Linked DNA regions of Homo sapiens: all the other regions are linked to region 6. The links are contacts of gene promoters, found by promoter capture Hi-C in human tissues and cell types (Jung and others, 2019). All regions are on one chromosome and are shown on one strand. Each heading gives the region's core, a stretch centred on a gene start or on the middle of the fragment in contact. The rest is flanking DNA. Distances are from core to core; before and after follow the strand shown. Region 1 overlaps IMPG2 (interphotoreceptor matrix proteoglycan 2). Region 2 has its middle 160 kb from the start of IMPG2. Region 3 has its middle 73 kb from the start of ABI3BP. Region 4 overlaps IMPG2 (interphotoreceptor matrix proteoglycan 2). Region 5 holds the start of LOC124906356 (small nucleolar RNA U13). Region 6 holds the start of PCNP (PEST proteolytic signal containing nuclear protein). Region 7 overlaps IMPG2 (interphotoreceptor matrix proteoglycan 2).

The links. The method cuts DNA at HindIII sites, captures the fragments that hold promoters and counts their contacts. A contact is called where the count stands out against the background at its distance.
Region 1: a contact is called between a fragment that was not itself captured here and the fragment with the promoter of PCNP in region 6, in 3 of the 25 tissues and cell types used here (IMR-90 fibroblasts, mesenchymal stem cells and thymus).
Region 2: a contact is called between a fragment that was not itself captured here and the fragment with the promoter of PCNP in region 6, in 1 of the 25 tissues and cell types used here (mesenchymal stem cells).
Region 3: a fragment that was not itself captured here is called in contact with the fragment with the promoter of PCNP in region 6 in 1 of the 25 tissues and cell types used here (lymphoblastoid cells).
Region 4: a contact is called between a fragment that was not itself captured here and the fragment with the promoter of PCNP in region 6, in 1 of the 25 tissues and cell types used here (mesenchymal stem cells).
Region 5: a contact is called between a fragment that was not itself captured here and the fragment with the promoter of PCNP in region 6, in 1 of the 25 tissues and cell types used here (aorta).
Region 7: a fragment that was not itself captured here is called in contact with the fragment with the promoter of PCNP in region 6 in 1 of the 25 tissues and cell types used here (mesenchymal stem cells).

What each region holds. Positions count from the first base shown.
Region 1 is chr3:101,285,164-101,288,474 of GRCh38, forward strand. All of the region lies in intron 4 of IMPG2 (interphotoreceptor matrix proteoglycan 2), which reads right to left. Among named protein-coding and RNA genes, the nearest start is that of IMPG2, 34 kb to the right of the region's middle. The HindIII fragment of the contact is 4,277 bases long and covers 1-3,311 here.
Region 2 is chr3:101,157,460-101,160,538 of GRCh38, forward strand. No RefSeq gene overlaps it. Among named protein-coding and RNA genes, the nearest start is that of IMPG2, 160 kb to the right of the region's middle. The HindIII fragment of the contact is 4,319 bases long and covers 1-3,079 here.
Region 3 is chr3:101,065,233-101,068,132 of GRCh38, forward strand. No RefSeq gene overlaps it. Among named protein-coding and RNA genes, the nearest start is that of ABI3BP, 73 kb to the left of the region's middle. The HindIII fragment of the contact is 3,799 bases long and covers 1-2,900 here.
Region 4 is chr3:101,222,989-101,226,111 of GRCh38, forward strand. IMPG2 (interphotoreceptor matrix proteoglycan 2) reads right to left here. Exons shown (of 19, transcript NM_016247.4): 19 at 1-3,123. Among named protein-coding and RNA genes, the nearest start is that of IMPG2, 96 kb to the right of the region's middle. The HindIII fragment of the contact is 5,403 bases long and covers 1-3,123 here.
Region 5 is chr3:101,201,480-101,204,770 of GRCh38, forward strand. LOC124906356 (small nucleolar RNA U13) reads left to right here and starts at 353; the gene lies at 353-456. The HindIII fragment of the contact is 5,383 bases long and covers 1-3,291 here.
Region 6 is chr3:101,572,599-101,575,489 of GRCh38, forward strand. It overlaps PCNP (PEST proteolytic signal containing nuclear protein), which reads left to right and starts at 1,582. Exons shown (of 5, transcript NM_020357.3): 1 at 1,582-1,681. The coding sequence starts at 1,618. RefSeq lists enhancers at 793-1,738, 1,182-1,451, 1,552-1,681, 1,762-1,921, 1,942-2,101. The HindIII fragment of the contact is 9,941 bases long and covers 1-2,891 here.
Region 7 is chr3:101,312,492-101,315,406 of GRCh38, forward strand. All of the region lies in intron 2 of IMPG2 (interphotoreceptor matrix proteoglycan 2), which reads right to left. Among named protein-coding and RNA genes, the nearest start is that of IMPG2, 6.6 kb to the right of the region's middle. The HindIII fragment of the contact is 6,029 bases long and covers 1-2,915 here.

The sequences.
Region 1 (3,311 bases), core at 703-3,202, 290 kb before region 6:
TGTAAGGGATGATGGTAGGGTTGGAGATATGTCATCTCATAAGAGGTCAGGGAGTAACACCACTATCCATTCCTCTACTGGTCCATCTTTGCCCCAAGAGTACTGCCAGTGTGCACCAAAAGGATAATGCTGCGCTAGGCCACATCCCTGACAGAAAGACACACAGGGATCAGTACATTCTGCCCCTACTCTCACTGAATGTGCTACAGACACAGAAAGACATAGACTTCCTGCTCTTCTAGGAATCCTATTCTTGATCATTTGATGTTTTCCTAAAGCCTGAGAAACAGGTATTTTTATTTAAAGTGAAACAACCAAGATTTAGCACAAGTTGTTGATAAGAGAAACACTAAAATTTCAATATCTCTCCTGTCTACAGCTCTGTCTCTCTCATATACTGCCTTATTGCATGGACTCACAGCCAGGCCACATGGTACGTATTCAATATGCTGACAACTGATGGTTTGAGAAACATTATCATGGAGAAGTCTGTCTAATATAAAGTAGTTACTTTCTAAATCTTTCTTCATTTGAAGTTAGTGCCTTTGAATTTCAGCAGATATGATTTTGAAATTGGTACAAATATCTACAGAAAAGTTCATTATATCATTTTTAATTTTAAATTTTTATAAATTTTGGTAGATTTACGGGGTACAAGTGCCATTTTGTAACATGGATACATGGTGTAGTGATGAAGTCTGGGCTTTTAGTATGTAAATTATAGAAACCATTTAAATACTTCTTTTCATTCTTCATGTTTGTCTTTCTCATTCACACACATATATGTACAACAAAGAAAACTGATTTTTTAATCTCTGAATGATGTAAAATATCCTAATAATTTAAATACATATGCATTATAGCATAGGGGTTGAATACTGGCTTTGTGACCTTGGACAAGTCCCTTAAATTCTCTACGCCATAATTTCCTTCTCTTTAAGAGAAGGATAATATTAATACCTACCTCATTATATTGTTCAGAGGATTAAGTAAATTAATACAAGTAATAAAGTACCTAGAACAATGTCTGGCCTATAACTAATACATTAGTATTAGCTAATATTTTTAATTTTATTAAAATGACTCTAATTAGGTGATTATTGAGTATGGTTATTCTAAAACATTTAAAAGGGCAAATATCATTGTCCATTCTTGTGAGTAAGAAGCTTTTTACAATATTCTAAGTAACTGCTGATATGTTAGTATTTTTAGTTATTAGGCCCAGATTTACAGTGAAATGGCATGCTTCAATATCCAATCTAGAAAAATAAATTATGGTCTACCTCTTATAGTGGTCTACCATGAAGTCTACCAGCCTAATTCTATGACAAGATAATGAAGAAAAAGTCTCATCTCTCTTCCCCTTGGCATCTTTATGATGTTTTAACATTCAAGTGCATATCAGTACTTTGAATGCTTGGAAATTATACTGCCTCAACATTTGTAGATATATGTACTCACACTATATATGCCTCGCATTACCAGTCTAGCTTCCGATGGCATGTGCTGCATTATAGGCTAGTTCTCATGATGGAAAACCTTCTCTTCACATGAGCAGAATCATTCTACCTTCTCTGTAAAAATTCCTCTTGGGAGTTGGGATGGTGAAGGAGAGAATGAAGGTGTTTGTTTCCAGCTGATGCACAGAAAGATGGGACAGTTTGAATCAGCAGGCAGGAGAACCCAAGGAAATGAATGAGATGATCAATTTGGGGCAGCTCCAGAGAAAACCCATTATGCTTTAGCCAATTAACAGACTTTCATTCATTTCCCCTCCTTCTCTAATCACCTCCTAGTAGTTGTGAATGAGGTGCACTGTGATCAGGTATTTATTAGTTGATACATTATGCAAGAAATAAATCTCTTAGCAGGAAAAAAGCACAGATCTAAATTTTTCCTCTTTGAATGATGAAATCCAGTAAGGTCTGAAGTTAGGTTTTCAGGAATATTGTGTTACTGTCAGGGTATAGTAACACAGAATCTATTGGAACAAAATGTACTTAGCTTGTAACCATGATTAATTAATATGGAAACATAGCCTTTGCAAAATTTACAGTGTGGCAACCTTGGCCACACCCAAAGCTGAATCAATCAAAAGAGTCTCATGCTCATGGATTGGAAGAATCAATGTCATTAAAATGACCATACTGCCCAAAGCAATTTACAGATTCAATGCTATTCCTATCATACTAGCAATGTCATTCTTCACAGAATTAGAAAAAGCTACTTTAAAATTCATGTGGAACCAAAAAAGAGCCTGAATAGCCAAAGTATCCTAAGCAAAAAGAACAAAGCCAGAGGCATCACACTATCCAACTTCCAACCACACTATAAGGCTACAGTAACCAAAACAGAATGGTACTGGTACAAAAACAGACAAATAGACCAATGGAACAGGATAGAAAACTCAGAAATAAAGCTTCACATCTACAACCAACTGATCTTCAACAAGTCTGACAAAAATGAACAATGGGGAAAGGACTTCCCATTCAATAAATGCTGCTGGGATAACTGGCTAGCCATATGTAGAATAAAAAAAACTGGAACCCTACCTTTTATCATATACCAAAATTAACTAAAAATTGATTAAATATTTAAATGTAAGACCTCAAACTATAAAAATTCTAGAAGAAAACTTAGAAAATATCTTTTTCAACATTGGCCTTGGCAAAGAATTTATGGCCAAGCCCCCAAAAGCAATTGCAACAAAAACAAAAATTGACAAGTGGGACTTCATTAAACTAAAGAGCTTTTGCACAGCAAAATAAACTATCAACATACTAAACAGACAACCTACAGAATGGGAGAAAATATTCACAAACTAGGCATCTGACAAAGGTCTAATATCAAGAATCTATAGGGAATTTAAACAATTCAACCAGCAAAAAGCAAATAACCCCATTAAAAAGTAGGCAAAGGAAAAGACACTTCTCAAAAGAAGACATACATGAGGTCAATATATGAAAAAATGCTCAGCATCAGTAACACTCAGGGAAATGCAAATCAAAACTACAATGAAATACCATCTCACACCAGTCAGAATGGCTACTAAAAAGTGAGAAAATAACAGATGTTGATGAGGTTGCAGAGAAAAAGAAATGCTTATATACTATTAGTAGGAATGTAAATTAGTTCAGCCACTGTGAAAGCAGTTTGGAGATTTCTCAAAGAACTTAAAACAGAGCTACCATTCAAACCAGCAATCCCATATCATTATATCAAAAAGCCACATGCACTCATATGTTCATCATTAGCTATTCATAACAGCAAAAACATGGAATCAATCGAGGTGCCCATCAATGGTGGATTGG
Region 2 (3,079 bases), core at 162-2,661, 420 kb before region 6:
AATGCAAGTAAGCTTGATGCCACTGATTTGTCCACTTTAAATGGCTAAATGGTAAATTTTATGTCATGTATATTTCACCACAATAAAACAATAGAAAAAAATAATCCATTGAACACTTAAAGAACCTGATTGAAATTTCTGTCTTTTATTCTTCTCTATAAATTGTATGTGGACAATTTTTTACCAACAACAAAAAAGCTAAAAATAGAAATGAGTAGATCTTAGACAAACACATGTACTTGGAACCATTTTGTTTGTTTTATTTGCTCTATTTTATTATTGCCTGATCTGACACAAAGGATCAGACTCACACAAATCAAGATTATAGCCAGTGTCAAGCTTTCATCATGATGTAAAAGAGTCAGGTAATCCAGTAAAAGATTCAGGTTCCAGAAAAGCAGAGAGAAATTGGGGACTTTGAGAGCAGTTCCCCAGCTCCTTTCGGTTCATGACAGACATGAACTCTCTGGCCCAGAGTGAAAGACGGGGTCCACAATGGAGGTTTTGTGGTGTTATCTCCTACCATAAGGGAGCATTTTATGAAACATCTCTGTGTTATACCCCAGCTTTCATGTCATTTTTCAAGGATATCCTGCTAGGAGCATTCTACAGAAAAGACCCTTCTGCTAACATATTTCATTAGTGTATTTACCTGGAGTCCAGAATCACATTGACTAGGCACCTGCCTTCTTTCCCCCATTCCACTTGGAGCATCCCCCAGATAGTTGGGGGGAACTGAGTCAGAGTTCAACTGCATTATTTTTCTCCTTGTTATAGACTAACAGTTTATGTCCTCCCAAAATTCATATATTGAAGCCCTACCCCCAATATGATGAATTTGGAGGTGAAGACTTGGGAATTAATTAGGTTTAAATGTAGTCATGAGGGTGAGGCTCCCATGATGAGACTGGTGTCCTTATACAAATAGGGAGAGAGACCACAGTGAGCTCTGTCTCCACCATGTGAGGATACAGCAAGAAGGCAGCAACCTGAAAGCTAGTAAGAGGTTTTCACCAGGCACTGAATCTGCTGGCACCTTGATATTGGAATTCCTAGCCTCCAGAACTGTGAGAAATAAACTTCTCTGGTTTAAGTCACTCAGTCCACAGCATTTCGTTATAGCAGCCCAAGCTGACTGCTCAATGACTAATCACTTGGATTAAATAAGTAAACAAAATATGTATGTATGTACTTGTCTTTAGAAATAATCATTTAATATAGAAACCTGGGATATTTCCATGAGAGCTTTCTACTCCCCAAAGTTCAATGTCTAGACCTCCATACCAGGAACTCTCCTCAAACAAATGCATCAAAATCACCTGGTAAAGATAAGGAGGAAAAGGCAAAGCTTCCTTTGGATGGGTCCCCAAGTCCTTGTACAGCTCAACAAGGTGTCAGATTTAAGGAGCTATAATCAATGAAAACCTAATGTAGAAGGAAAATTGCTTTCACAAATTAGACTTCAGGCCAAAAGGAAATTAAGGGATGGATGCATCATTGCCTCAGAAGGGCTCTCCGAGGTCCACCCAGCTTATTCCATCTTTTATATTCTCTGTTGATGACCTTCCACAGCAAAGTTCTCATTCTCCACCTCTTTTTTTTTTTTCTTTTCTTTTCTTTTTTTTTTTTTGGACTACAGGATTTAGACAGTTCTTTGTATCCCAGGTCAACCTTGCCTTTGACAAAAATGTAAATTGCTCTTTGCTCCCAAATCCTTGATTTGGCCTCAGTCAATTCCACCCCAGGCCCAGCTCTCAGGACCTGAGGCTGAATCAGGACAGGTTCCCCACAGATCCAGGAGGAAAATCTGTGAGGAGAAACCCCAAAATGCTAGGATTAGTGGCAGCAGCAGGAGCCACCCCAACCTGATCACCACACAGAAGACTTGGTCGTTTCACCATCACTCACCCAGAGGACAGGATTTCTCTCTGCCCTGTACCTCCTACCCAAGTGACTCTTTTGTTAACCTTGGCAAAAGAGCAGTAACAGGGAGAGGCATAGGCCCTACTATCTTTAAACTCTCCTCAAAGTACCCCGATGGGGGTGGTGAGTCTGAACTCCACTGTCACTAGCTAGAATTATTAGCTTAATAGTGGTGCCAGGAAGTCACAGGAATGGAACCAAAGCTGGTGCCTCAGTTGTGAGCATATAGTGTCTCTAATTAATCCCACCTGGCTTCATATGATTATCTAAGCAGAAATGCTTCTGGCATTATTCGAACCATAGAATTCTGCTGGTAGCTACAGAACGTTTTCTTCAAAGCATGCAGCAATGCAAGCAGACAGAATAATTTGCTTCTTATAGATGTGCACACTGGACAAGAGACATCTTCTGAGTGAAATACTACCAGAAACATAACCAATAAGCATTTAAAAAACCCTTGTAAATGGTACCAAATGCAATTTTAAAAACTTTAGAAATTATGGCGGTTTAAATGTGAATGGCATTTTACAGCTTATAAAGAATTTCCACCCATCTTTCCACTTGAAAAGAAAATAGGAAGTTACTGTCATGCAACTCCAATATAAAAACAGCATAAGAAAACATAAGCCTGGTTATATAGGCTTCACAGAAATTCATAATGCTAGATAATTAATTCATGGGAAGAAAATGATTTGCTTTAAGCCACAGACTGTTTTCAAAAGCTTCTATGTTATGATGACAGCCGTTCTTCATAATCTTTATATTTCAGGCTCTGAAGAAAGCAAAATAAGATTTTCACCTCATTTATATGCATCAGAGAAGTGCAAGGAAACATTCCAATGAAACTCACTGTGGCAAAGAATCTATTTAATTGCAGCAATGTATTTGATGTGGGCTCTAGACACAAGGCAAACCCCCAAAGCTGGAAATGATAACTGATGTTTTCGCCAAAGTTTGCCAGTGGCTGGTGACCATCACTTGCCTAATCCTGAGTGGCTGTCTCTTAGTGGTGGTTTCGTGTGTGTGTGTGTGTGTGTGTGTGTGTGTGTGTGTGTGTGTGTATCCTGCCAGATTCTCTGGGTGGTCTGTGGAATATCTAGAATTTATGGTTGGCCTTTCCCATGGACAGTTAGGCAAACACTCCAAATGCTATTTC
Region 3 (2,900 bases), core at 30-2,529, 510 kb before region 6:
TTCTAGGGTTCTTCTCATTGTAGCCTTAAAACACAAGACTGAAATTTTAAAGCCTAACTCTAAGAAAAGCACATAAAACAGGGAACTAAAATAGCACTAAAATAGGGCTCTGATATGGAAGTCCTCACATCCTGAATGACTGGGATGGATCATTTGTATTGCAAAAATTAGCCTTAGGAATCTCCTGTAAGACTTTTCCTGTTTTTCATTGCTATACCCTAGTTTCCACTTGGCCCTATCACCCACACCTCATCAAACTGGAAATATTATAAAACCTTGATTAATGCATGAAATGCATGGATTTCTCAAAGGAATCTGATCCCTGAGATGGGATGAAAGTTACTAATATTTAAATCCAATAAAATAAGAGTAAGAATAAAAGTAATAATAACAGCTAATATTTAGGAACATTTTCTTTGTACCAAGAGTATACTGATTGTATTACGTTTCATAGTTTGTTCTTACAATAGCTATGTGAGCAGAGTGCTACTATCATACCAACTTTACCATCAAAAAAGATTTAAATGATCTTTCCATTATTGGGTAGCTTGAAAGTGGGGTAACCAGTATTGAAGCCCAGGACTGCCTGATATAAAAAATCTGCTCTTCCCTCATCCCACACTTGGCAGTCATTCCTCTACAATACAAGAACAACTTTTAAGACATTCTCCTTCCAAAACTCTCATTGAATATAACCCTTCATAATCCAAGGTAGCTGGGGCTTATAAAAACACACATTCGGAGGCATGTTCTTCTGATGCGAAGCCTTTAAAAAAGAGAGGTGAAATAACAGAATAGGCAAGGAAATCAGTGCCTTTGGTTTTGTTACTGTTCAAGTACTACCCTTGTCAGAGAACTGCAGTTGTTCTCAAATGATTCAGGGAAAAAAACACCCTTCTGAGTCAGTAAGTTCGGCTGAAAGACAAGAGAAAATCAAGCAGAGTCATTCTAAACCAATGATTCATTGACCTTGGAAATCTGGCTAGTAGATGTCTAATAAAAACAAACCCTTTCAGTTTAAGAGATGAGATATTTACTCCATACCTAATGAAAAGTACAGAGAACTTAGAGAAATTAAATATTTTTTCCTAACACAAAACCTGGACAGATTTCTTCTTTTTCAAGGACAAGTAAAACAATATTAAGTAACATAAAGAAAGGAAGTACTGCCTTAGGGATACAGGGTATGCACAAAAAACGATTAACCATAAGAAACTGAAGATATTTTTAGAAATTATCTACTTTGCATTTTTCATAAATTAAAACAGCGTTTTCTGAAACATAAGAAATGAGTTTAAGATAAACTAGAATAAAGGGTAAGATTAAAATTAAAAAGGAATTGATCAGTACAAGGAAAGAATGCATTAAGTTAAGGGAGAAGTTTTGTTCTCTCGTCATTACCAATTTTCTTGCCACAAACAATTACAAAAGCTAAATAAAAGATAAAGAAAAATGTTTGAATGCAACAGTGAAGGGATCAAAGAGCAACCGAGGCTATCAGAAGTTGAAGGGCAATTATCCCATAAAGAAGAGAGACAGACTAATATGAACACATTTTTATAACTGTCTTTCCTCAGAGGTGTTGGTGATGTAGACCACCATTTCTAAGCAGAAAGTGGTAAGCTGGCACTGACAGCAGCCTCCCCAGGCTGGGCAGACACAGACCAAAGAAGCCAGAATGTAACAGGGAAAAGGGAATGCAGAAAGGATAGCTCAAAATACTACAGCAATTTGCCCTTCAGCCATTTGCCAACTGCTAAGTTTTACTCATACAGATTGAGACTTGAAAAAACAAGGAAAAAGCCCCAGCTCAGATGCCAGAGAGTGAAGCCAAGATTTCAGCAGTTTTTCAGTCCATCAGAGAGACAGAAGTCTGAATTCACAACCCAGTATGGTGGGGGGACCTTAGTAAAAAACTCCAGGCTCTCAGTTGAGACATAAAAGAGAAAATATATACGTACTTGAAAGCATCAGGTCATGCCAGAGTTTCTCCAATATGCATAAATTGCCTATATATATATTATATATATGTCCATTCTATATATATATAACATGTCCATTCTACTTTTTTTTGTATTTCACTGCTTTCTCTCTTTTTCTCTTTGTCTCTATAAATTTCTGCTTTTAATCTAGTTGTAATTTTATAATTTAATGCTTAATTTATTCATTCTTGTTCTTCAAGGTCAATACTTTTACTAATAGCAGCTTTATAAAGCTATAACTCATAAGTTTTGGCATATATATATGATATATATATTTCTATGTAGTTAAAATATCAATGGTTAATATCAAATATACATATAAGATTAAGCAAAATAAAATTCAGATTCCTTTATGCCAAAACTTATGACTTATAGCTTTATAAAGCTGCTATTAGTAAAAGTATTGACCTTGAAGAACAAGAATGAATAAATTAAGCATTAAATTATAAAATTACAACTAGATTAAAAGCAGAAATTTATAGAGACAAAGAGAAAAAGAGAGAAAGCAGTGAAATACAAAAAAAAGTAGAATGGACATGTAATTGATAAACAACTAAATAATTAGTTCTTCTGAAAAATCCTATAAAAAGTTGTCTAGAATATAAACAACAGGATTTTTAAATTTAAGTACTGGTTCTAAAGTTCATTTGGGAAAAAAAGCCACTTATAAAAATAAAAAAAAGTTGAACAACGGAGTAAAAAAGGATACTGACCCAGCCAAATATGATAAATCATAAATGTATTTCTCATATACTATAATCTCTATGTTCTGTTCAGTGTCTTTGTTCTTAGGTGGCATAATAATACTACATCATATTATGAGGTTTTGCCATGTTGCCCAGGCTGGTCTGGAACTCCTGGCCTCAAGTGATTCACCTGCCTTGGCCTCTCAAAATGCTGAGATTATAAGCTTGAGCC
Region 4 (3,123 bases), core at 413-2,912, 350 kb before region 6:
CAGTGTTTTTAACCAGTCTTACTATCCTGAGGGGAGTGGTTTAACCTGTCTCTTATTAACTCATAGCAGTAATGTAAGGTTTTACAAAATGCATGACTCAAGGAAATTTCCAGGCAATTCTTTACATCATGGTACCCTCCCATATTTCCACCTTCCGCCAGGATATCCTTTGTGGAATACAATGCAATGGATTTGAGAATAGTGACCGTCACATCATTTTTCTGCATTTATTACACAATTGGGAGAATAAGCTAGGATCTTGACTCACTGCAGCTGGATTGTAAATGAGGAAGGCTGGCCCCACCCATTCCTACTGGGAATTGTTAGAAATGTTTTAGAAAAAAATAAAACAAAACAACCCGTTTGGGGTTTGTGTTTTTGTTTTTTTGCTAAAACATCTCAATTTAATAGTTATTCTACTTCATTAGCTCTTTCATTATGGAATAAATATGTTGTCTTCTCTTCCGTTGCAAAATGAAAATTCAATTCAGAGACAGAAAGATGTCAAAGTACCCATTGCTGAAAACAGAAATAACATAAAGCTACCAAAAAAATCATGAAATGGAAGTCAAACTTATAAAACAAGCATACAAATGAATAATTAGTTCAGGTATCATACTTCAGCCAACCTACTTTTAGAGCCTACAAAGAATATTTGTGCAGTTTCCAGCTTTTTGTTAGAGGTAATATTAAGTCAGAGTTGTTCAAACACATTACAATTTAGTGTGGCAAAAAAGAGAGAAAAGAATAAAAAAGAGAAAGTGGGGAGGAGCCAACCCATGGTGACAGATAATGCAGAAGAAGAAAACAGAAGGTGAGAATAAAATCAGGTAAAGCCTGCACTTGTTTTATTATATAAATTAAATGGGGCCAGGTGCGGTGGCTCATGCCTGTAATCCCAGCACTTTGGGAGGCCAAGGCAGGTGGATCACCTGAGGTCAGGAGTTTGAGACCAGGCTGGCCAACATGGTGACGGTGAAACCCCATCTCTACTAAAAATATAAAAATTAGCTGGGCATGGTGGTGGGTGTCTGTAACCCCAGCTACTCAGGAAGCTGAAGCACGAGAATCGCTTGAACCCAGGAGGCAGAGGTTGCCAGGAGCTGAGATCGCCCCATTGCACTCCAGCCTGGGTGACAGAGCGAGACTCCATCTCAAATAATAATAGTGATAAAAATGGGACTTCAGGCCACATAAACGTGAACAAACACCCTTAAACCATTGCAATGGTGAAAATGGAGCCCTATTTATCAAATAAATTCCCCTTTATCCATAACCCATAAAAAAGGATAGTGTATATAATTCAATTATAAAGGCTACATCTGTAAAACACCACAGTATCTTACAACCTTTTATAATAACATTTTTAAAATGGTTATTTACCATGCATTTTATTGCTAACTGCATTTTAGTATTTTCACATAAGGTGATAGTCTTGTTGAATATTATATTGCTAGGTTAAGAAGAACGTTCTAATACTCAGAAAATTTCATTCCTCAATTGTGCAGTGTAAATGACAGTTCAGCCTAAGACTTTTAAATGATGACATGCCATTAAATCACCTTCGAGGAAGGTCTTTTAGAAAGAAGCTCTTTAGGGGTAGTTTTTTCCATCAAACTAATAGCTCCTTTAGTGCTTTGCTTTGTACATGAGTGGATGGATCTTTGCTGGGCAAACTGTGTTCTTCAACCTTTCAACAGTGGTTCAGCTATAGCAAAGGCAGGACAAAAGTTGTATTCCTCAACTGAGGCCTCCTGTTCTTTCCCTGATAGTTGAGGGGCTCCTTTACTCTTCCATTTCATTGGTGTGGAGCAGACATTCATGAAGAGCTAAGTGTTTTGCTCTTGCATGAAAAGGTCACGCAAAAGGAAATCAGAGATGGTGACGTGTGTCAGAATTCCCAAATTCCCACTTCACTGCTTAGTTTGTGGAAAACAACAACCCTCCTCTGGCTCAGTTCGTGCTTCTCCTAAGTGTTCTGCATGGTGACCTGCCCTAGAGGGATTTGTGTCCATCTGGAATTCTTCCAGCAAGCACACATTCAAAGAGTTGCATTCTAAGGTTAATTTGTGATAAAATACACTTTCATCTAACACGTAGTATAGGAAAACAGTTTACAGTCTTAAACAGAAAACTTTGAAAGTTTTATAAATAAAACTAAGCACTTAGTAGTGACAAATATCATTAACACTTAAAATGTCTTAAAGGTAATTATCAATTACTTTTCAAATGGGCCCAGTGGAAAGTGTCTAATTATCCAATATTAAGACTAGAACATGTCAATAAAATAGTGGAAAGTGTACCTATACTGAACTGTTAGAGGATCCATTATGTGAGTAGGGAATGAAAGGAAATGCTAGGATAAGGGAGCCACCTTGGCGCGGGCGCACATGCGCATTAGCGCGCACACGCACACACACATACACGCACACACACATTCACACATACACACACACAACCTGTTATCCATACATACTTTGCAAAATACCTGGCCATCTTCAAGGCTTTCACTAGCTTTACTGTGGCATGCACTGAGCCCAGATATTTAGTTTCCGGTGTCCTCATAATGAGCAGAATTGGCAGTCATCAAGTTGAGAAAAAAAAAAGTGAACCAAGTATTTTATCTTATGGTCAGTTTATACTGGTTATTTATATCTGGTCAGAAATAAATCAAAATGTTCAGAATTGGTTTTGGCAAGCATGAAGACATCTAGCATAAAGTATCTGCATTAATAATAACCTATTGCATATGCAATTTAATATCATGATGATGATGATTTGGCCTCCTCCTCTCCCCCTCCAAAGCAACCCATTCAAAAAAAACACTAGGGGGAAAGAGGAAAATTTCCATTTTCTGTCAAAATTTATATAAGGTATGGACTTCCTATCTGTTCAGTTTTTAAAATATTTTAATTGTAATAAAAGCTTTGCCCTGTTTTGTATAAGCAGGAGTTAATTTAGACAGGAGGTATTACACAAAGGAGAAGCAATGAAAATGAGCTCATCTATATTATGTGAGGTAGTTAAGTGCTGTTTTCCAAATTAATACACCAGGAACTAGAGGAGAGACAGGATTTGCCCAAGACATCTTTAGATTTCAGAAGCAATCAGGGAACCTCAGTC
Region 5 (3,291 bases), core at 46-2,545, 370 kb before region 6:
AGGGACACAATTGGAGAACGACAGATCTACATACAGATAATTATAACGAAGAAGTGCAGAGAGAAACCTGAGCAAGAGCTGTTCTTTGAGAATTCTGATTGAGGACTCCTTTCCAAATACAGATTTAAACAACTTATTGAGGTCATTCTGCAAACTATTAAACCTGAGCATAAAAATATGGCCCAGAAAGATGGGTTTTCCATGCCTGATTAAATGAATAACTTGCTAATGTGGAGCATAACATTTGACTTAAAATATAGCCATTATGCAGGGTGATCATTTCCAGCAGGGAAAGCCCTAGAAAAACAAACCGTATTCCTCAAACTTCAATCAGTGTAAAAAACAATTCTCAATTCTTTTGTGGTTTATAAGCATAATGGTTGGGTTTTTATATGCATGTGTGAAATGTACTTCCCTCAAACCTTGTTACAATGTCAGCACATTACCCACCTGACATGAAAATAATAAAGTAAAATAATTATCCTTTCATCATTCAGTGGCTCTTTTTGTTTCCGTAATATATATTTTATGCTTAAGTATACTTAGCTTCAAGTATCTTCATTTTTTCTTTTTAATAACTTAATCAGTACCAATGCTTCAAGTAACTTTACAAGAATAATTTTGCAATACTATCAAATACCTAGGATTTATATTTAAAATCTGGTTCACCTTGAAAATCTAATGATCTTCTAAATTATGTAAGTTTTTGCAGTGGTAGTTAGGATAGGACTTGTAACTTTTATAAGACTGGATATTCAAGTTTTTAAATCTTAACTATCACTAAAATATTTACACAGGTCCCAAATGAATATTAATATGACTAATATCACCAAAGGAATCTCTAATTAAGGCTTAAGCAATCTTTCTAAAATGGTATTAGGAACATGCCTTTCAGAATAAGGTGAATTGAGCATGTTCCCAAAAATCCTGCAAATAATGTATAAATTTAGTTAAGGGCAAAAAAATTAGCGGGGAAAATAGACCTATGAGCTTTCTTGACAGCAAATTGAAAGTCAAGAATGTGATGTGGCTGCCACTAAAAATGAATACTTTCCAGGTAAAGAGATGCGACATCCATTTTATTCAGTGGTAGACAGACCACTTCTGAAATGCTGTATTGATTCTGTAGACATCTAAGAGACTCATCAACAAACGGGAGGCTTCAGAGATGGCTAGGATGGTAAAGGGTCTGAAAAACATGTCTTTTGGGGAACATTTGAAAGAACTTAGAGTGAATGACTAGGGAAGAGTTGGATGTCACAGGTAAGGGTGACACAGACACACGAATGATCTCTGGAAATATTTGAAGAGCTGTCAAAAAAGAGAGAAATTTAACTTCCTCTTTTTCTCAGCAAATGGCAGAATAGAAACACATGAGTGTATCAGGAAGGTTAAGAGCACAGCTTTGAAGTCAGACTGTGGAATTAAGACTTGGTTCCAGCCATTGTTGGATATGTAAACTTGGCAAACTAGTTGTTCATTAGGAAAAAAGCAATATTAGAAGTACCCATCCTTAGGTAAGGACTAAATGAGATGATAGATGTGGCAGACTCAGAACAATGCCTGACAAATGTTCAGATAACCGTTTGCATCAGTTAATTTAATAGAGACGCCTGAAAATGCATTGAGCCACTTCTAGAAGGAAATTTAGCAAAGACTAAATGACCATCAGCCAGGGATGCTGTGGTAAGTATCCCTGCATTGGGTAGAAGAACTAGGTAACCTGTAAAAACCCTCTCAACTCAAAAATTCTTCACTGTTGTTAACTAGTGCTTCACTCTCCCTCCCCTGTGCTCACAGCACTTTGTTCAACCAGTATTACAGAATTTATCACACTTTCTCATCAGTAGTTATGAACATGTCTGTCTCCCACCTAGTTGGTGAGCTCCTCAAGGTCAGACTATGCTTCATCCATCTTTGTCCCCTGTGCATCTTGCCCAGTGCCTGGCATACAGCAAGATTCAATAAACACTTGTTGAAGAAAGAAGATGCTCAGGGCTCAGGGCTAATGTGGACTCCTGGCTGCTTCTCTATCTGTGTGACAATTCCTCCAGGAAAGGGCCCAGCTAATATTCAATCCAGGAAGCTTTCGAATTCTTGTGGTTATGCTAGAAATATGACTTGGCGGGCATGACTTTTCTAGGTGAATAAGCATTCTAACTGCACAGCGTTAAGTACATTGTGAATTTATGACATTTGGACCGATTCCTGATCCCCAACATGTGAAGTCTCCTCCTGGCCGCAGGCTGTGGCTCTTTCAGTTGATGCACATACTCTCTGCTGTCCTGTTCTCCAGCTGATGAAGTGGTTCAGTCCACACTCATGGAGATCCTTATGGACATCTTCCTTTTTCTGTACTAGAAGTTCCTAAAAGTGGTAAGAGGCTTAAAATTGCACTCCAGCTATAATATTCAAAATTAAAAAGACACCTGGTCATCTATCAGGAAACTATGCTTGCATGATTACTAACTCTGATTCTTGTAGTGTCTAACTTCTTCTCTGGATAAAACTGAGGCATCTTTCAGATCCCAGATTTATTGATCTTTAATGCTTGCTCAAGTACTTACCAAAATATTATTGTTCCTTCAGCCACTCAATAAATACTTGATGAGTAACTAAGAAGTATCCTAATGCCATGACAGCTTCCAAACTTGCCTAAATTATAACCATGGAGGAGCTTATGTACTCAGAGAAAGTGGTTTAACTGTCATTCAGTGGAGGAAAAATGTTTTAATACTTTATACATTGAATTAAACCTGTTCTTAAAGAACCAAAACTCGCCAAACTACCTAAAAACTCAGGATGGGAGATGAACAGAAGTAGCAAATGAACTGCCTGCCCTGGTAACCCACAGCGTTTTGCCATGTGATTCTAAACAAACTGACAGTGGGTCTGTTCCAACACCATGTGCTCCCCTGTTCTGGAATGTAGTGAAGGGAAAATCTGAAAGGAAAGCCAATCTTGGCAAAACCTCTTTTGTTCTCTCACATATTCCAAAGATGTGAGGCTCAGGGAGCACTCAAGTCCCCAGACCTGGGCATGACTAAACCTGACTTTTACAAACTTCACAACAATTTCCCTTCTGTTTCCAACAGTGTGTGCAGCACTGAGAACACAGAACCTACCCAAACTGCAAAAACAAGAAAGTACATGTTTTCCATCAGGACCAGCTTCTTCAGTAATAATTGGTTATTTCTTTCTGATATTCTTAAAGCCCGTTCTCTTTCTATTAGCATGTATGAGGTTTTTGGTAGGAAAAAAAATATTTCCCTATGCAGCATTCATCCATAC
Region 6 (2,891 bases), core at 332-2,831:
GCGGAGGTTGCAGTGAGCCAAGACCATGCCATTGCACTCCAGCCTGGGTGACAGAATGAGAGACTCCATTCCACCCCCCATAAAAAATTACAAGCATCTGTAAATACATAATCTCAAATAAAAATCTTCGTGTATATCTCCATTTTTAAAATGATAGAAACGAGAGTCTCAATGATTACCTTGAAAAGATCACAAGGAAAATGAAACAAACATGAATTAAGTACCTGTAAGATAGTTTGCTGGTTACTTTTACATATATGATAAATGATGGATCAGGGACTTCAACCTAGATCACAAAATCACCACCACACTGCCCTGCTTCTGTCATGGGAAACACACTTTGATAATTTCTTCATTCTTTCTCCACTCCCTGGACTTGAAGCCCGAGAAGTAATCCATCCGCAAATATTGAACACTTTTTATATTCATATATGAAACGCACAGTACACAGTTTTTAAAAACTGGTCTCTGTTGTCAAGGAACTTTTGAGCCATTCAGAGAGACAACACTTAAAACACACACACACACACACACACACACAAACTGAGGGAAGTATGAAGTGACCAAATAATGGTATACAAAGATGATCTCATTTGATCCCTATTACCACTCTTTGAGGAGGTACTATTATTATTGCTCTTTTATAGAGAAGAAAAGGTAGCTCTGTAGGCAGTAAGCAAGTCTCAAGGTTACTCAAGCAGGAAAGGGCAAAACAGATTCAAATCCAAGTTCTGACTCCTAAGACTTTCTCTAACTATATATGGTAAGACAAACCCAGAAACTCCAGTTCCCTAAGCAAGTAATAGACCCCATTTGGCTAGGAGGGCTGGATAAATACTGAGAAAGGGGGAAGATGAAGCCGAAAAGGTAGGCTAGGGCCTAATGTAACTCACGGACTTCAGAATGCAGACTGTAGGAATCCACTAAAGGTTTCTTATTAAGGCAGAAATTACTGCAGTCTTAACTTGACATAGTAGTTTCTCAACTTGGTAGAAGCAGACTATACAAAAAGTAACTTTACAGTTGGCTACGTGACTTAGACAAATTACTCTCTCTGACCTCAACTCTTACAGGTAATTGAGAGGAGAATTCTATATTTGGACAATCGCCGTGATTAAACGAGTGTATGAAAGGCGTCTGAAGCTAGGGGGCGCTAGATAAACACTGATTTCCCCTTTAGGGAAAAAGAATGCAGGCTTTTTGTTTACATAGAGTTGGCAGGCATGCGTTATCCAGCAAGGCCGGAACGGAAGACACTCTCAGCCTCAGCTGCAACCACATCTGGGTATGCAGAAACCTTCTAAGATCCCAGCGTTTCCAGGGAGATGCTCCATTTCCCCTCACTTCTCCGGACCTGTCGCTAGACCATGAAGACCTGACTGCCCTCTAATAAAGTGCCTAGCCAGCACTCTTAGACCGCCCAACCTTCCCAGCTCTTCCTTCCGAGGCGGCTACTCGATGACATCACATCCACTTCCGCTTCCGAAGGCGGCCTCTTTTCATTCCTCGGGACCGCTCTAGGCTGCCACCACGCCGGCTGGCCCCAAAAACTCGATGGTTGTTGGGCGGGGTCGTGACGTCCTTGGCGTGGCTGCAGGGGAGGCCGCGGCGGGGAAAATGGCGGACGGGAAGGCGGGAGACGAGAAGCCTGAAAAGTCGCAGCGAGCTGGAGCCGCCGGAGGTGAACACAACCCCAGCGTCGTGGGCAGCGTGGGATGCTCCGGGCCTTTCTTTGAGCTCCCAGGGTGGGGGGAGTGGGGTGGGGCGAGAATGGGCGGATCTGGACCTCACCCGGCCAGGTGTTGGGCCCAGACCTGCCTCGGGCACGCCCGATGCGGCCCTCTGGGCTCCGGGCCTACATCGCCTCCTTGCCTGGGGAGAGCCGGCCACTGTTCGTCACCTCCTGGCCCCAGCGGAGGCCCTGATTCCGAGGAGAAGGGAGATGGGCGCCAGAAAGGGAGACCGAACTCGGGGTGGGACCAGGAGCGGCGGTGCAGGAGCCGCTACCGCCACACCGGAGACGCACATCACACAAAACACACACACCGGAGACGCTCATGAGACATAACATACACACAGTGCGAGCCACCGAGTAGTTGCCGCGGGAACTGGCCGCAGGCTGAGTTTCTGACGGTGCCGGCCTCTCAGTTACACGCAGGAGTTAATTACGCTTGCTGCTCCCTTTTCACTGAGGAGGTGGACAACTCCGGCCTGCTCTCTTTCCTTTACTTCCAAGTTTAATATTGACCCTGTGACAGGATGGGCCGAGGTGATGGAGGGGAAGAGGAATGCCTTTGCCTGCCCTCTGGTTTAAGCTGCGGGGTCTAGGGCTAAGGTTTGGTTGCTTTTCTTTGAAGTATCTCCCTTAGGCTGTTGCCAGCTGACCGCTTGCCAGATACTTAGGCGACTAAATAGTCTAGCGTGACTCTTCCTGTATTTTGTTACGACGTTAAACTCAGGTTACAGCTATCCTTATTCTGTCCATTCCACTCCCTAAATTCGGGTCTTGTGCGTGAAGGAAAAGAAACGTAATCTCTCCAGCTCCCTCTTTGCACATAACAAGACAAGTGACTTAACACGTGCGAGCTGTTTAAAATGTTTTTAGAACATTTTAAACATTATTCTCTATTCTGACCACCTTAGTTATCATTCCCGAAATTATTTAATATGAGAAAATAGAAACGATTAATAGCATATGAAGGCCACTAGTAGACCTACTAACATAATGTTTCATGTTAATTGCCTTGGGAACAAAAATTATTGAAAAGATTAAGTGTAATGTTAATTACTTTGGACCCAGGATTTCCTTTTTAAAAAACACGTACAATTCTGTTAGTTAAGCTGGAACTCCATCTCTCTCTTCCCTCCCCACCCCCTGTCTTTTTTTTTTT
Region 7 (2,915 bases), core at 374-2,873, 260 kb before region 6:
GGTTATACTTTTTTTAAAAAAAAGGAAAACATTGCTGGCAAAGATATGACTAAATCAGAACCCCCATACACTGCTGGTGGGATATAACACAGTACAATCACTTTGGAAATTAGTCTGGCAGTTCCTCATGTAGTTATAAAGTTACTATATGACCCAGAAATTCTACTCCTAGATAAATACCTAAGAGAAATGCAAACAATGTAAATGCCCATTGACTGACAAATGTGATCTATCCATACACTAAAATATTATTGGACCATAAAAAGGAATAAAGTACTGATACATGTACAACATGGATGAACTTTGAAAATAATATGCAAAGTGAAAGAAGCCAGTCACAAAAGACCATATATTATACGATCTTATTTTATGATATATCCAGAATACACAATTCTGTAAAGACAGAAAGTAGATTAGCGTTTACTTAGGCCTGGGAAGAGGGGGAAGGGAGATAAAAGGATAAAAGGATGATAGCTAAAGGGTCACATGTTTCTTTTTGAGGTGATAAAAATGTTCTTAAACTGACTGTGGTGATTTGGTATATCTGTGAATATACTAAAAAGCCACTTAATTTTGTAGTATGAATGGGTAAATTGTATCAAACTTGAATTACATCCCAATAAAAGCTGTAAAAAATGCAATTCCCTCTGGAAAGGGAATGCATGCTTAATCCAATGGCTTTTCAATTAGGAGCTATCTGACAAGAAGGTTCAACTAACTAACTTGGAATAACAGGATTCAGAATGGTTACATGTTCTGAAGCATTTGCACAGCTCAGAAAGGAGAAACCTAGATAGGACACTGTAGGCAGAAGAGAGAAGAGCAAAATCAGCATGACCTCCAGGCAAAGAGGTACTAAGGAAGGTAAAATTCCATCACTGATAAATACTGCATACTTCACTACTTGGCCTGTAACTAAACAGTTCAGAATTCCCATCCTTGTCAAATAAGGATATTATAGCCTTTGGTAACTTCTGAAGAGAGCTTTCTATTTTGAGAAGATGTACAAATGGGCTCTCTTCTAGCAGAAATAACCTGCCCTGGAAACTAGTGGTGGAAGGGAAAAATGTTATAATATTCTGAAGAAAATGCCAGCATTTAACCTGTCTTTAATCCTTCTACTAGATCTCCAGCTGTGTCTTATCTAAAACTTAGGAATCCAGAAATCCAGCATGGAATTATCTTTTTTTAGTGTAATATATTTTCCTTTCAGAATTGTGGAGCCCAAAGCATATGGAATAGTCCATTTTGGTGCAATAAGGCAAGAAAAAGAAATATAAGGCATAGAAATTGTTAAGTAGTATAACCATATTTGTAGATGAAATAATTATCTATGTAGAAAGCCCTAAGGAATATACCCAAAAAAGCTACTAGAACTGGTAAGTGAGTTCAGCAAAGTTGCAGGATAAAAGGCCAATATACAAAAATCAGTTGTATTTCTATATACTAGCAAGGAATAATCAGAAATTACATTTTTTAAAATATCACTAATAATAGATGAAAAAATGTGAAATCCTTATAAATAAATCTGATAAAAGATATGCAAGATCCATACACTAAACATTGGTTATATGTTCCTTCCATTCAATCAATAACATTGTCATTTATTTGGGATCTACAATGGCCCTAGAACTCTTAGCCAAATTCACTAAAACCTTTAAATATATTTTATATTATTATTATTCCCATTTCAAGGGTGAGGAAACTAAGATTTTAACAAATTGAATAATATTCCTAAAAACAAACAGCCAATAAACTTGTATCTCAGACTCAGATTTGCATAGCCCTGTGGCTCAAATATTGCATGGGACATACGTACACTAAAAAGATTATTTGTTGTCTATTTGAAATTGAAATTTAACTGGGTGTCCTGCATTTTTATATGCTAAATCTGGTAACCATATATATCAGTCAAGTATGGGCTGTGGATGGCTTCACTCCCTAGGACTCTAAACTTGTATAGTAAGTTTTAAACAAATGAAACTATACCCAGCGTTTGGGTCCTGAAACCTTCCATGGGCTGTTTCCCACTCTGATTCATTGGAAAATGCCAACTCATTCTTCGAAATCCAGGTTAACTAACTTCTATCACCCCAGGCATGGATGGCCATTCCCACTTGTGTCCTTCCCACATATACACTTTGTACAAACCTTTACTATTGCACACTCTACAGTGTTTTAATTATTGTGGTTAATACTATACCTGGTAGAATCAGTATAAATAAGATTTCATGTGTAAATTAACAAATGAATAAATGAATGAATAAAAATCAGAAAACATTCCTGAAAGAAACTGAAGATGACCTAAATAAATGGAGGGATATATCATGTTCATAGATCAGAAGACTCAATATAGGTTGAACATCCCTAATCCAAAAATCCAAAATGCTCCAAAATATGAAACTTTTTGAGTGCCAGCATGATACCACAAGTAGCAAATTCCACACCTGACCTCTTTTGATGGGTGACAGTCAAAATGCAGGCTCACTAGACAAGAGTACCCAAGGGAAAAAAGACTCTCCCAGCTCCCTTCAGCTGTGTTATATCTTTTCTGCCCATGTCCAGATTACTCCACCAAGCATACCTACAAGGGGTCATAAAATGGCACCCATGCAGACCAGACACACGAACAACAGTAATAAATAAAGTATGTTGTACAATAACCTTTAATCGAAACACAGAATTGTAGAAAGAAACTAGAAGCCTGCCATTGTTTGTTGTTACTGTTGTTTAACAGCTGAGGCAGGTATTCTGGTGATGCCACTGTTCTGTTTAGTACCCTGAACACATTCTTCTTCACTGTACTAACAGTATAGCATATTTTTTACTGTGAAGTACTGATATGTAAGTAAGTGTAAGAAAATTATTGTTTTTTTGTAGAATGTAAATTCAGAGTCAGGGACGATGATGATGCC